Regions from separate parts of the Homo sapiens genome. Here region 2 is linked to region 1. Evidence: promoter capture Hi-C in human tissues and cell types (Jung and others, 2019). All regions are on one chromosome and are shown on one strand. Each heading gives the region's core, a stretch centred on a gene start or on the middle of the fragment in contact. The rest is flanking DNA. Distances are from core to core; before and after follow the strand shown.

The links. The method cuts DNA at HindIII sites, captures the fragments that hold promoters and counts their contacts. A contact is called where the count stands out against the background at its distance.
Region 2: a fragment that was not itself captured here is called in contact with the fragment with the promoter of MYLIP in region 1 in 1 of the 25 tissues and cell types used here (lymphoblastoid cells).

Annotation. Positions count from the first base shown.
Region 1 is chr6:16,124,194-16,130,431 of GRCh38, forward strand. MYLIP (myosin regulatory light chain interacting protein) reads left to right here and starts at 4,893. Exons shown (of 7, transcript NM_013262.4): 1 at 4,893-5,216. The coding sequence starts at 5,130. RefSeq lists a silencer at 4,575-5,574. The HindIII fragment of the contact is 3,904 bases long and covers 2,767-6,238 here.
Region 2 is chr6:14,887,095-14,893,327 of GRCh38, forward strand. All of the region lies in intron 2 of LOC105374945 (a long non-coding RNA gene), which reads right to left. Among named protein-coding and RNA genes, the nearest start is that of JARID2-DT, 360 kb to the right of the region's middle. RefSeq lists a silencer at 4,990-5,190. The HindIII fragment of the contact is 4,509 bases long and covers 1-4,410 here.

The sequences.
Region 1 (6,238 bases), core at 3,643-6,142:
TTCAGAAATGAGATGTTCTGGTTTGATGGTAGGCCAGGATCAAATTAAACTACTCCTGAATTTCACAAGCCTAATATTTCAAATGAGAGATTTCAGCTCATTTGACATATTCTAACATACTTGTGCTTGATGAAGTGTTACTTATGTGAACCATTAGCTTGAATAATGTGTGAAAGCAAAATGACGGTTTTCTTAGGCAGTCACTAATTGTTCTTCCCTCAGTGCTTCTACAAATGAACGTTGAGAGGCAGAGAGAAGGGTGTGGCAGGTGATGAAGGCTGTCCTTCTCTGGAGACCCAGCATAGGGTTTCTGCAGCAGTGCACGCAGTGTTGAGAATGCAATGCACAGAGATAGGTACCCAGCCATCCAGATCAGACCCAGTGCTCAATTAGAAGGAAGATTTTGCAGCCAAATGATCATCACATCCACACAAATACCATCTAGTGCTCAGTCTTGAGCCCTAGTATGTGAGACAGAGAAAATCTGTGGTGCTTGGGTGTGTCTGAACAGCTAGAACTCCACTGGGTTAGCCAACTCTACCGCCTAGTTATGGTTTCTATTTTTAAATTCTATATTCATACAGCTGACCTTTTTTTTTCCACTATGCTGGTTAATTTTAATGCTATCTTTAAAAGATGAGAGCTAATTGAGAGAAAAAGAGAGCAGACACAGATAACTTGGGCATCTCTCTGGCTTCAATCACTGCTCAATCTAATATAGTTCCCACCCTGGGTGTTCAGAGTCTCTTATTTGGAGTTAGACCCAGCTGGGGCTTGAAACTGGCTCCAGACATTCAGCAGCATTAGCAGATGGTGGAATCCTCGAGGAAGTAATTCTACTGCGGGTTTTCTATTCCCTAACCAGGTCTTTTGAGCATAATGTGCTTTCTCACCAGCTCACTCAGCCTCCTCATTCTGTAACTAACCAGTCTCTCCTTAGCTCTACTCAAGGAATAAATTACAAAACAGAGATGGAGAGAAAAGACAGAGAGAGAAAGCGAGGAGAGAGAGGGGTCATGGTCCAGTATATTCCATACATGCTAGTGGGAAGCCAGTATTTTTTTTTTTTTTTTTTTTTGCTTCCCAGTCATAAGGATTTCTTACTGCCCGCCCCTCCCACCCCCAAGTGCCATTTTCCTATTTTTAGCTTTGTTTTTGTTTTAAGAAATCCTTCTCTTCAGTCTTATCTGGGGATTCTTAATTTCAAAACAATTGAAATCTTCACCAACCATCCTATAGCAGAAGCACTATCTGGGTTTGGATTAGAAATATCCCTGTCACGAGCACAGTGGCTCACACCTGTAATCCCAACTCTTTGGGAGGCAGAGGCAGGAGGGTCGCTTGAGCCCGGGAGTTTGAGACCAACCTGAGCAACATAGCGAGACACCCATCTCTACAAAAAAATACAAAAATTAACTGGGTGTCGTGGCACCTGCTTGTGGTCCCAGCTACGCTGGAGGCTGATGCGGGAAGACTGCTTGAGCCCAGGAGTTCAAGGCCGCAGTGAGCTATTTTCACATCACTGCCTGCCCTCTAGTCTGGCAACAGAGCAAGACTCTGTCTCTGAAAAAAAATTAAAAAAAAAAAATTCTTGTAAATCTTCTACTTCCAACTATTGTGCAAATGACAATTGTTAAAAATAGGTCGGGGCGGTGGCTCACACTTGTAATCCCAGCACTTTGGGAGGCCAAGGCGGGCAGATCACTTGAGGTCAGGAGTTCGAGACCAGCCTGACCAACATAGCAAAACCCTGTCTCTACTAAAAAAGCAAAAAATTAGCCGGGTGTGGGGGCGCGTGCCTATAATCCCAGCTACTCGGGAGGCTAAGGTAGGAGAATTGCTTGAACCAGGGAGTCGGAGGCTACAGTGAGCCAAGATCATGCCATTGCACTCCAGCCTGGGCAACAAGAACAAAACTCTGTCTAAACAACAACAACAACAACAACAAAACTATGAAAAATGTGGGGTTTTGTTTGTTTTTTGTTTTGTTTGAGAAAGGGTCTCACTCCCTTCGGCCAAGCTGGAGTGCAGTGGTGAGATCATGATTGACTGAAGCCTGGACTTTCTGGACTCAAGCCATCCTCCCACCTCAGCACGCTGAGTATCTGGGACTACAGACACATGCCATCATGCCTGGCTAATTTTTTATATTTTTAGTAGAGATGGGGTTTTGCCATTTTGCTCAGGCTGATCTCAAACTCCTGGGCTCAAGGGATCTGCCTGCCTCGGCCTCCCAGGGCTCTGGGATGACAGGCATGAGCCACCACGCCTGGCCAAAAAGTTTTAAATAAAATAAACATGTCAGATTTTACCTATGCTTCTACAAACTATTTTACAAGCTTAGATTTTTTAAAAAAACAATGAAATCATACTTGCAAAAGAAAAATCCCTGCTAAAACCAAAAATATAAGTTATTTTTAAAGTAGTCCACAAAGTGGGTATTTGGTTTGGGTGTTTGCTTGTTTTATTTTTGTTTATTTTTTTTTTCTTGGCCAACCAATATTTTCCCGTTCTACTCATTTCCACACCTGGTCCCATTGATTCTATGAGTTTCCAGTTAGCCAGCTTTAGTTTCTATTGTTCATAAACAAAAATACTAACCAATATAACTGGTCTCCCTATTGCCCCTCGCCTCTTCTTCCTCTTCTGAAACTTCTAGCAATTAAGCATAAAGTAGACAAGGAATGAACCAAACGCTATCTTCCAGATAAATTCCCCAGATTATTAGTAAACTGGAATTCAGGGAATAGGCACTGCAGTTAATACAAGAAGGGACTGTTTCAGCCCACAATAGCATGAGGTGTATTTATAAGACAGAAAGATGTGAGAGTGCACCTGTTCCTCTGCAACAGTGGGGGTTAGGACTTGGACAGTTTACAGTTTTACTCGGTCAGCTTTAGCAAAGAACTGTGTGTGGGAGGATCCCTCCTTTTTTTTTAGCCTTGGGCTCTGATATCGTACCTGGTTGTTCGGAAATAAAGGCCACTAACAGATCCTTGGGACTCGTGAAGGGGGGTAGGGACAGGAAAAGTCATCATTAAGCAGTGAAGGCACTGAACTTATAGCTCCCCTTACATACACGGGGACATTCAAATGCTTTTGTGAACGTTATTATCTTTGCTGCGCTTCCCAACAATGCTGGGTGGAGACAGAGCAGATATTGCCATCTCCATTTTACTGTTGACAACACCAAGCTTCAGACAGATGAAGTAAGTTTTCTCTTTTTTTTTCTTTCGTTGTTTTCTTTTTGTTGTTGTTGTTGTTTAGAGACAGGGTCTTTTGCTCTGTCGCCTAGGCTGGAGTGCAGTAGGGGGATCACAGCACACTGCAGCCTCGAACTCCCAGGCTCAAGTGATCCTCCCACCTCAGCCTCCCATGTAGCTGAGACTACAGGCAGGCGCCACCACGCCTGGCTAATTTTTTGTATTTTGTGTAGAGATGGGGTTTCGCTGTGTTGCGAAACCGGGCTGGTCTCAAACTGCTGGGCTCAGGCGATCCTCCTGCCTCGGCCTCCAAAAGTGCTGGGATTACAGGTGTGAGCCATCGAGCTGGCCTGAAGTAAGTTTGCTAAGTTTCCACGGCTGAAACCCACATCATCTGGCTCCTATAAAGAAATCAAAAAGGTAGGCTATGTAATATATTGGCAAAGAGGAACAAGCGGTAAATGAGTGAAGGGTTGTAGACCTTTAATAGCTAATATTGCAGTAATGCCACCTGTTAGGTCAGGAGATGAGCACCTTACCTTAAGACGAGGACAACATCTGGTTGCCTGTGAGAAGGGACAGGCAGGGTATCAGGTGCTGCACAAATGTTTAATGAATGAGTGAGATAAGACAGGAGGTAGAATGAGCAACCTGAGAGAGGGCCTGGTACCCTGTAAGGCGTTTTGATTCAGCAGAACGAGTAAGGAGAAGCCCTTCCGGAGTGTAACACACCAGCACTAGACCAAGACACCTGGCTCACTGGTCAGCTGCAAAAACTTTCATACTCAGATTTTGTTTTTCTCAATGATGAGGTCTTAATAAGGAACAACAATTCTGCCTCCAAGCAACCCACTGTGGCTAATCCTGGTGGAAAAGAGTTTTCTTTTTCTCTTTTTTTTTTCTTTTTTCTTTTTCTTTTCTTTTTTTTTTTTTTTTTTTTTTTTTTTTTGAGACAGGGTTTTTTGCTCTTCTTGCCCAAGCTACAGTGCAGTGACACAATCTCAGCTCACTGCAACCTCCGCCTCCTGGGTTCAAGCGATTCTCCTGCCTCAGCCTCCCAGGTAGCTGGGATTACAGGTGCCCGCCACCACGCCTGGCTATTTTGTTTTTTTTTTTGTATTTTTAGTAGAGACGGGGGTTTCACCATGTTTGCCAGGCTGGTCTCGAATCTGACCTCAGGTGATCCACCCATCTCGGCCTCCCAAAGTGCTGGGATTACAGGCGTGAGCCACCATGCCCGGACGAGAACAGTTTTCTTTAGGCTTTGGGTTGCTCCTTTTCCTTTTTGCTTTCACAACCGAAATGCGTGCTCAGAGTGATCCAAGATATTTGAAGAACAGTGGCAGCTTGGAGGTGTTTAATCACCGTAAATTCGAGACGGCAGAAAGGCGTCCCCGCCTGGAGCCCCGGGCGATCGCTCACTCTGAGCAGCGTCGCCCAGCGGACAGAGGCGGCTGGTGTGTTCCGGGGTCTCCCTCCCTTCCCGCAGCACTCGGCGCCCGCAAGCTGCCACCTCCCGGGGCGGCCAGGGAAACTCAGCCGGCTCTGGGAGGCGGGGGCCGCGGTCGAGGGGCGCCGCTATTGGCTGATCGGGCGGGGGAGGAGGGGCAGGGAGGCCGTGATTGGCGGGGACCCGAGCTGAAGGGGGCGGGGCCGCTATATCAGCAGAGTCCCTGTCGCAGCGCAGGCAGTTGGGCTGCTGGAGTGCGGCGCCACCGCGGAGGACAGGGGCAGCTGGCGGGCAGCGGGTGAGGGGGTGGCGGGGACGCGAGTGGCGGCCGCGGGGCCCCGGACAAGGGTCCGCAGAGCTGCAGCCTTCGAGGGCCAGCCCTCTCCGAGTCCGGGGCTGGGTCCCACCAGTGACAAGGCGGCAGCCCCGCGCACACCAAAGAGAAGGCGGCTGTGGCGGCAGCGGCAGCCCCAGCCATGCTGTGTTATGTGACGAGGCCGGACGCGGTGCTGATGGAGGTGGAGGTGGAGGCGAAAGCCAACGGCGAGGACTGCCTCAACCAGGTGAGGGCGAGGGGCAAGAAGGGGCCCCGGCGGGTCCCGCGAGGCCGAGGGGCCTCGCAGCGACGCCTGGCACTCTGGCGCGCCCCCTACTAGGGGCCGGGAGGCACTGCGGCGGCAGCCGGGGGGAGCGCGTCCCCTCCTCTCCACGGGCGTGGGGCGCGCGGTCTCCTCCTGGCGCGCGTGGGGTGCGCGGAGAAAGCGCGCAGCGGGGGTCCCCAGCGCTGAGGGCCGGGCGCAGCCCGCAGCCGGGATCCACCCCCCAGCGCCCCATCATCCCCCCAACCCAGCACTTTCCCGGAAGAAGGCGGCTCCGCACACCTGCCGCAGGTATGTGCGTGATGCCGCCTGTCGGGTCCCCGCGGCGCCTGGCAGTGCCACCCGCGTGCCAGGATGGGATGGAGTGGCTCGAAGCAGTCTCGGGCCCCAGGGGTTCTTGGCAGACAAGCCGGGCCCTTGTCTCACGCTGCTTCTCAGGCTGCTGCTCTCAAATGCACCGTTCACCTGCATCTCCGGGTTTGCGGGGGACGGGAGGAATAGGTTTGGGTCATCTACTGCTCGGTTGTTTTTAAGCATGTGTTTCCTTAACAGTGAGGGAGATCGGTGCCAAATAGTGCAGAGGTGGTATGGCAGACAGCACATGTGATCCCAGGAAAACGCTGTGCCCTCAACCCCTCTAGCTCTGAGATGTTTGGAAAACCGCTTGTGAAGCTTAGCTGACACTTGTGGCGTGTTCCCTCAATGTGTTTGATTTTTGGAGTCCAAATGGTTAAAATTGCCCAGATAATAAGTCGCCAAAAATCAGCTGTGCAGAGTATGCTGGTGGAGGGAATTCCGGTGATTGGAATACGAAGGAAAATACCCTGTAGTTTCCCCTCCTCATCTTTTGGAAGGCTACTTTTGAGGACTCCTTTTTTCTCTATTGCAATTGGTCATGCCCTAGACGTTAAAAGGAATTATGAGCCTCCATACTAGAGCTCGTGGTTTGGTATCATTGGAGCCGTGGAACTTTGTTTTTCCAGTTT
Region 2 (6,233 bases), core at 906-3,405, 1.2 Mb before region 1:
AAGATGCAGCATCTCAGGCCCAGCTCTAGAGCAACCGAATCAGAATATGCATTTGAAGAACATCCTAGCAAACAGATCTCCAGTCGCATTTGAAGAACATCCTAGCAAACAGATCTCATTGGTATTAGCTAATATCTACGATACTATCTGTATTATCTAACAGATAACCGACAAGCACTGCACATTGAGGTGTCTCTCTACCTATGTCATCTCTTTTAATCCTCAGAACAACCTGACACAGACAGTCTGACCCTCCTTTTTACAGAAAAGCAACCGTGGCTCAGAGAGGTTAACTTATTTGCCCAAGACCACACAGCTACCTTTCAGCAAAACATAGAGTTTAGCTGAATCTGGCTGATTCCAAAGTCACTGTCTTTTCCACCACATATCTGAAGTCCAGTGCTGAGTGGAGAAAAGAAAATTCTAGCAATAAGCCCTCACCACCCAGCAAGTCAGTGATGTCAGTCAGTATCCTGACTGAACAAATGCATGCAGACAGGCAGTTATCTGAATATTTGTCAGCAAGTTACAAGCCCAGTGGGTTGGGAACCCGGAGTGAGGATCCATTTCTGAAGGCCACAGGAGGACTGCCACGAACCAGGCTGCACCCCTGTCCTAGGGCATCTGTAACACTGAGCAGGGACCCCAGGAACAGGCAGACCTGACCAGCCCCACACTGGGAGAAACGCTCCAGACCAGCAGCCAGTTCTGAACCCGATGTAGCGGACAAGTCCGGGGCTGCATGCCAGATGGCAGAGCAACAAATTGCAGTTTCTTTTTTTTTTTTCAGAGGGAGACAGGGTCTTACTATGTTGCCCAGCCTGGTCTTGAATTCCTGGGCTCAAGCAATCATCCCGCCTCAACCTCTCAATGTACTGGGTTTACAGGTGTCAACCACCACACCTGGCCTAAGTTAAAGTTTCTTAAATCCTTCCCACCTAAAATCAAACCTGGGCTTGGGGGAAAGAAGCAGCTGTAAGAAGACCATCCTGAGGACAGGATACTGACTAAAGTCATTGCCTTGCTGGGTAGTGAGGGGTTTGCAATGTCATGAGCAGCTTTTGCTATGTGGTGAGCAACTGTCCCGGCATCTGCCGTCACGGGCTGGGAAGACCAGGTAAGAGTTGACATGCCCTGCTAGAGATGAACCCAAGGTGCTGTGGGCGGCCCCACCCAATATATTCTCCATGGAACCCAAGAGCCTTGTCAAGTTACTGCAAATGCACAGTCTTAGTTTCAAATCAAGGCCCTCCATCCATAACTGCTTGTTTCAAGGGAAGGTCGCTGCCAAACTATTTCTTCATTTCTAATAGGCACCTAGAAAGCAACAGAGGGATGGTAGAAAGCCACATGACAGCCATTTGGCAAAGCTTTTCAGAATTGCTTTTCTATTTTTCTGTTTTGTAGGCTCTGGGGTTCCATTGAGACTTCTACAGTCAAGCAAGGATCCCATTTCTTAACATTTTGCAAGCCTTTTTTACAAATGCCAAAAAACATGCCTAGGGCAGAGCCATGGACTTTCTGAGCTCTGTTTACTAAACCACAGATTGTGACAGCCCCAGAGCTGGTTGTTCCCATCCAATCTGTCCTTCACATTGTTACCAAATCTGGCTTCTTAAATCAGGCCTGTCACCCTGTTGTTCCCTTGCTGAAGGACTTCTATCACTGGTGGGAGCAAGTCCAACCTCGGATTTGCATTGGCACCCCTTCATCAGCAGGCCTGCTTCACCCCTGAAGCTTGGTACGTACTGTCCATCCCCCAGGGCAGGGAGTAGCCAAGCCCAGTTCCTTCGTGCCACTGGGCCTTCCTACCGCAGTTGTTTCTACCAACTGTGCTCCCTTAGGCAGCATGGTGGTGAAACCAAGCCAAGGCCAGAGTCATATGGCAACAGCCCCACAAACTATGTGTCCTCTGCCCAGCTGCAGGTGTCGCACAGAGGTTAGGTGAAGTGGCGTGCTGATAAAAGTTTAATAAGTGGCTCTCCAGGAGAGAAAATGTGTGCATATGTAGATGTAAACACATAGGTTTATTATAAACTTTACTGCTATATGATACACACAATCTGGTAAATTCCATATAGCCAATTGTTTCTTATGTATGCTTTCATTGATTTTTATTTTACTTATTTTTATTTTTAAATATAATAACCAGAGACAGGGTCTCACTATGTTGCCCAGGCTGGTCTCGAACTCCTGCCCCATCCTCCTGCCTCAGCCTCTCAGAGTGCTGTGATTACAGGCATGAGTCACCACACCCAGCAACTTCCATTGATTTTTGACAAACTCTCTTCTCTGTAGCCAACCAGTGTGGCAACTGATGAACAAGTATAGTTCTGGGATGGCTGTTGGTTGCTATTTTCATTTATGTAAACAACAGGAAAGTGAAACAACTAAGATCTGTGTCAGAATTCCACTCATTCGTCAATGATAGGAACAACTCCTTTACAGAATCAGATACAGTTGTCAAAGACTGGAGGAAGATTTTCTCAAATTTTTTTGTGTCATTCACAAAGTAATGGCTATTGATAGGCAGACTTTAAAGTTTTATCTGTATGTTTAATATTATCTCCCTCACTTCCTTAAGTCTAGACCAAGGGTTCCATAAAATTTGACTCTTACGAGCCAGATAGTAAATATTAACTTTGTGAGCTATTCGGTCTCTGTCACAACTACTCAACGGGGCCATTGTAGTGCCAAATCAGCCGTCGACAACAGGAACACAAAAGAGCGTCCCTGCTATGTCCCAATAAAACTTTTTATGAAAGCAAGTGGGGGCCCAGATTTGGCCCACAGGCTGTAGTTCCCAACCCCTTGTCTAGACAACCAATGAGACAATAAATCCAGCCTGATTTGTAGCGTTTGTTTACAAATCAGTTGCTGTGGCTATTTCAAGCTAACAATGCAAAGTCACTGCACGAGGAGTATGGGGAGGTGGTGTTCACCAGCTTGTAGAAATCTAATGTCATATTTCTACTGGTGTGAGTTTCCTAGGGCTGCCATCACAAGGTGCCACAAACCAAGTGCCTCAAACAACAGAAATTCATTGTTCCACGGTTCAGGAGACTGCAAGTCCAAGTTGAAGGTGTGGGCAAGGGGGGCTCCTTCTGTGAGCCCCGAGGGAAAATCTGTTCCCTGTGTCTCTCCCAGCTCCTGATGGTTTGCTGCCGTGTTGGGCGATTCTTGGCTTCTGCTGCATCGCCCCAATCTCTGCCTTCATCTTCACGTGACATCCTCCCTGCGTGCATATTTCTCTGTGCCCAAACTTCCTCTTTTTATAAGGACACCAGTAATATTGGACTAGGGCCCCACCCTAATGACCTCATCTGAACTAATTACATCTTCAACAACCCTCTTTCCAGATAAGGTCACGTTCTGAGATACTGGGGGTTAGGACTTCAACATATGAATTTGTGGAGGGAGGGAACACAAATGAACCCATAAGACCACCGTACAGTGACAATAGTCATAAAGAGCTTCTAGAGCATAGATAATAAAAAATAGTTGGGAGGCCGAGGCGGGAGGATCACGAGGTCAGGAGATCAAGACCATCCTGGCTAACACGGTGAAACCCTGTCTCTACTAAAAATACAAAAAAAAATTAGCCGGGCATGTGGCGGGCATCTGTAGTCCCAGCTACTTGGGAGGCTGAGGCAGGAGAATGGCGTGAACCCAGGAGGCGGAGCTTGCAGTAAGCCGAGATCGCGCCACCACACTACAGCCTGGGTGACAGAGCGAGACTCCATCTCAAAAAACAAAACAAAACAAAACAAATAGCTAAACAGGCTGGGCGCGGTGGCTCATGCCTGTAATCCCAGCACTTTGAGAGGCCAAGGCGGGCGGATCATGAGGTCAGGAGTTTGATACCAGCCTGGCTAACATGGTGAAACGCCGTCTCTACTAAAAATACAAAAATTAGCTGGGTGTGGTGGCAGGTGCCTGTAATTCCAGCTACTCAGGAGGCTGAGGCAGGAGAATTGTTTGAATCCTGGAGGCGGAGGTTGCAGTGAGCTAATATTGTGCCGTTGCGCACCAGCCTGGGTGTCAGGTGAGACTCTGTCTCAAAGAAAAAAAGAAAAGAAAAGAAAGAAACAGCAAAACACCTGGGAAGTGATGACTTTTGAGTATTTATTATATTTACTTTAATCTAATTTATTTAGTTGTAAGTTCACTTATTTAGTTTTATAATTTATTTAGTATAAGTTCATGTAAGACATACATACATATATATTTGTTTGTTTGTTTTTTGAGATGTGGTCTCACTCTGTCACCCAGGCAGGAGTGCAGTGGTGCAGTTTTGGCTCACTGCAACCTCCGCCTCCGCCTCCACGTCCACCTCCCAGGGTCAAGTGATCCTCCCATCTCAGCCTCCCCAGTAGCTAGAACCACAGGCACGTGTCACCAGGCCAGGCTAATTTTTGTATTTTTAGTAGAAACGGAGTTTCATCATGTTGCTCAGGTTCATCTCAAACTCCTGAGCTCAAGTGATCCATCTGCCTCAGCCTCCCAAAGTGCTGGGATTACAAGCATGAGCCACCACACCCAGACTATAGTTTAATTTATAATAATAGGTGTGTTTAACAACTGGCTCACAAAATTCTAATCAACTCTCTTAAGCCAAAATGCGTTGCCTTCAGCACACCCCTGGTTTAAGGGGATATGTGCTACAGCAGAGCTCCCCAGGGAAGTAGGGTCCTGATATAGTTTGGCTGTGCCCCTACCCAAATCTCAACTTGAATTGTATCTCCCAGAATTCCCACATGTTGTGGGAGGGACCCAGGGGGAGGTAATTGAATCATGGGGGCTGGTCTTTCCCATGCTATTCTTGTGACAGTGAATAAGTCTCACGAAATCTGACAGGTTTATCAGGGGTTTCCACTTTTGCTTCTTCCTCATTTTCTCTTGCCGCTGCCATATAAGAGGTGCCTTTCACCTCCCGTCATGATTCTGAGGCCTCCTCAGCCATGTGGAACTGTAAATCCAATTAAACCTCTTTTTCTTCCCAGTCGCGGGCATGTCTTTATCAGCAGCATGAAAACAAACTAATACACGTCCCCCCCAGGGGCCGGAGACAAGAGGAACCAACCCATGGTCCTGAATTCCTCCCCTCCCGTGGGATCACTGTGAGGCAAGATGTGTCCATCTCACCCAGTTTCCCCACCCTTCTGGCCCGCTGCAGTTACCTGAGAGCCTCCATCTCACTGGGCCAAACTTAATTCTGCTGCTCCAAAGAAAAGGTGACAATTTCTTTTTGTGCTAAGCAGGAGGATATCAGGCTTCACACCAGAGCCCATCCTTACTCATTGTTCTCTGGTTCTCAGTCTCCCTCCAAGGCCAAGTAGAACCCTTAGATCTCCTAGTATCTTCTTCAATAAAGCCAATCCACACAAGTCTATGCCTTCACTGAATTCCTATACAATCTATTCCCATATGGCATCATATTATCCTCTAGATGACTTCTGCATGAATCTCCTCTGTCTCTACTAAATTTATAAAATATTTGGAAAGACAGGCTGTGTTCTTTGCTATCTCTTTCTGTCCAGCCCAAAACTAGCCAGATAAAACCAGGGGTTTAATAAATGCTTGTTGTTTGCATAGAGAATAGCAAATAGTAATCAAAAGCAATTTTGTCCTAGGTCCAGGTTAGAAAGAATCAGGCTTTGTTCCAGAGGAGGGCCAAAGTAAAACTCAAGTATAGTAATCATTTCTGCTCACAAGTTTTAGCATGTCTGAAAAGGAAAGAACGGCTCAGACCAAGAAGCAGGCTCAGCGAGGATGGCTTCTCCGTGTCCTCTAACTGTGCCTCATGGGGATATGCCGAAGGTGGGGACAATGGCCAGCAGCCCATGAAGAATAAGGAATCCCCTGTGTGTTAGTTAGGCTAATGCTGTCTGTCATAACGAGCACACTCCAAATTCTCAGGGGCTTCACAAGATACAGAGTTATTTAATTTTGCTCACATCAATGGTAGAGACTGGTGGTTGGGGATGGAGGGAAGGAGGAGAATGGGGGAAGGGAAACTCAGTTCACACAACCATGGTAAACACACCTGACAGAAGCTATGCCATCTTCCACACATGGTCCCCATGCCCTGGCCCTGGGGGCTGAGGTCAGTTGGCATTCCTGGAAAGAGAAAACATGTACAGGATCCTGTAGGAAAGTTCTGGGGCCAGGACTAGAGGCGGCGTCATCATTTCTGCCCACATTCCATTGACTGGAACTCACTTTCATGGCCC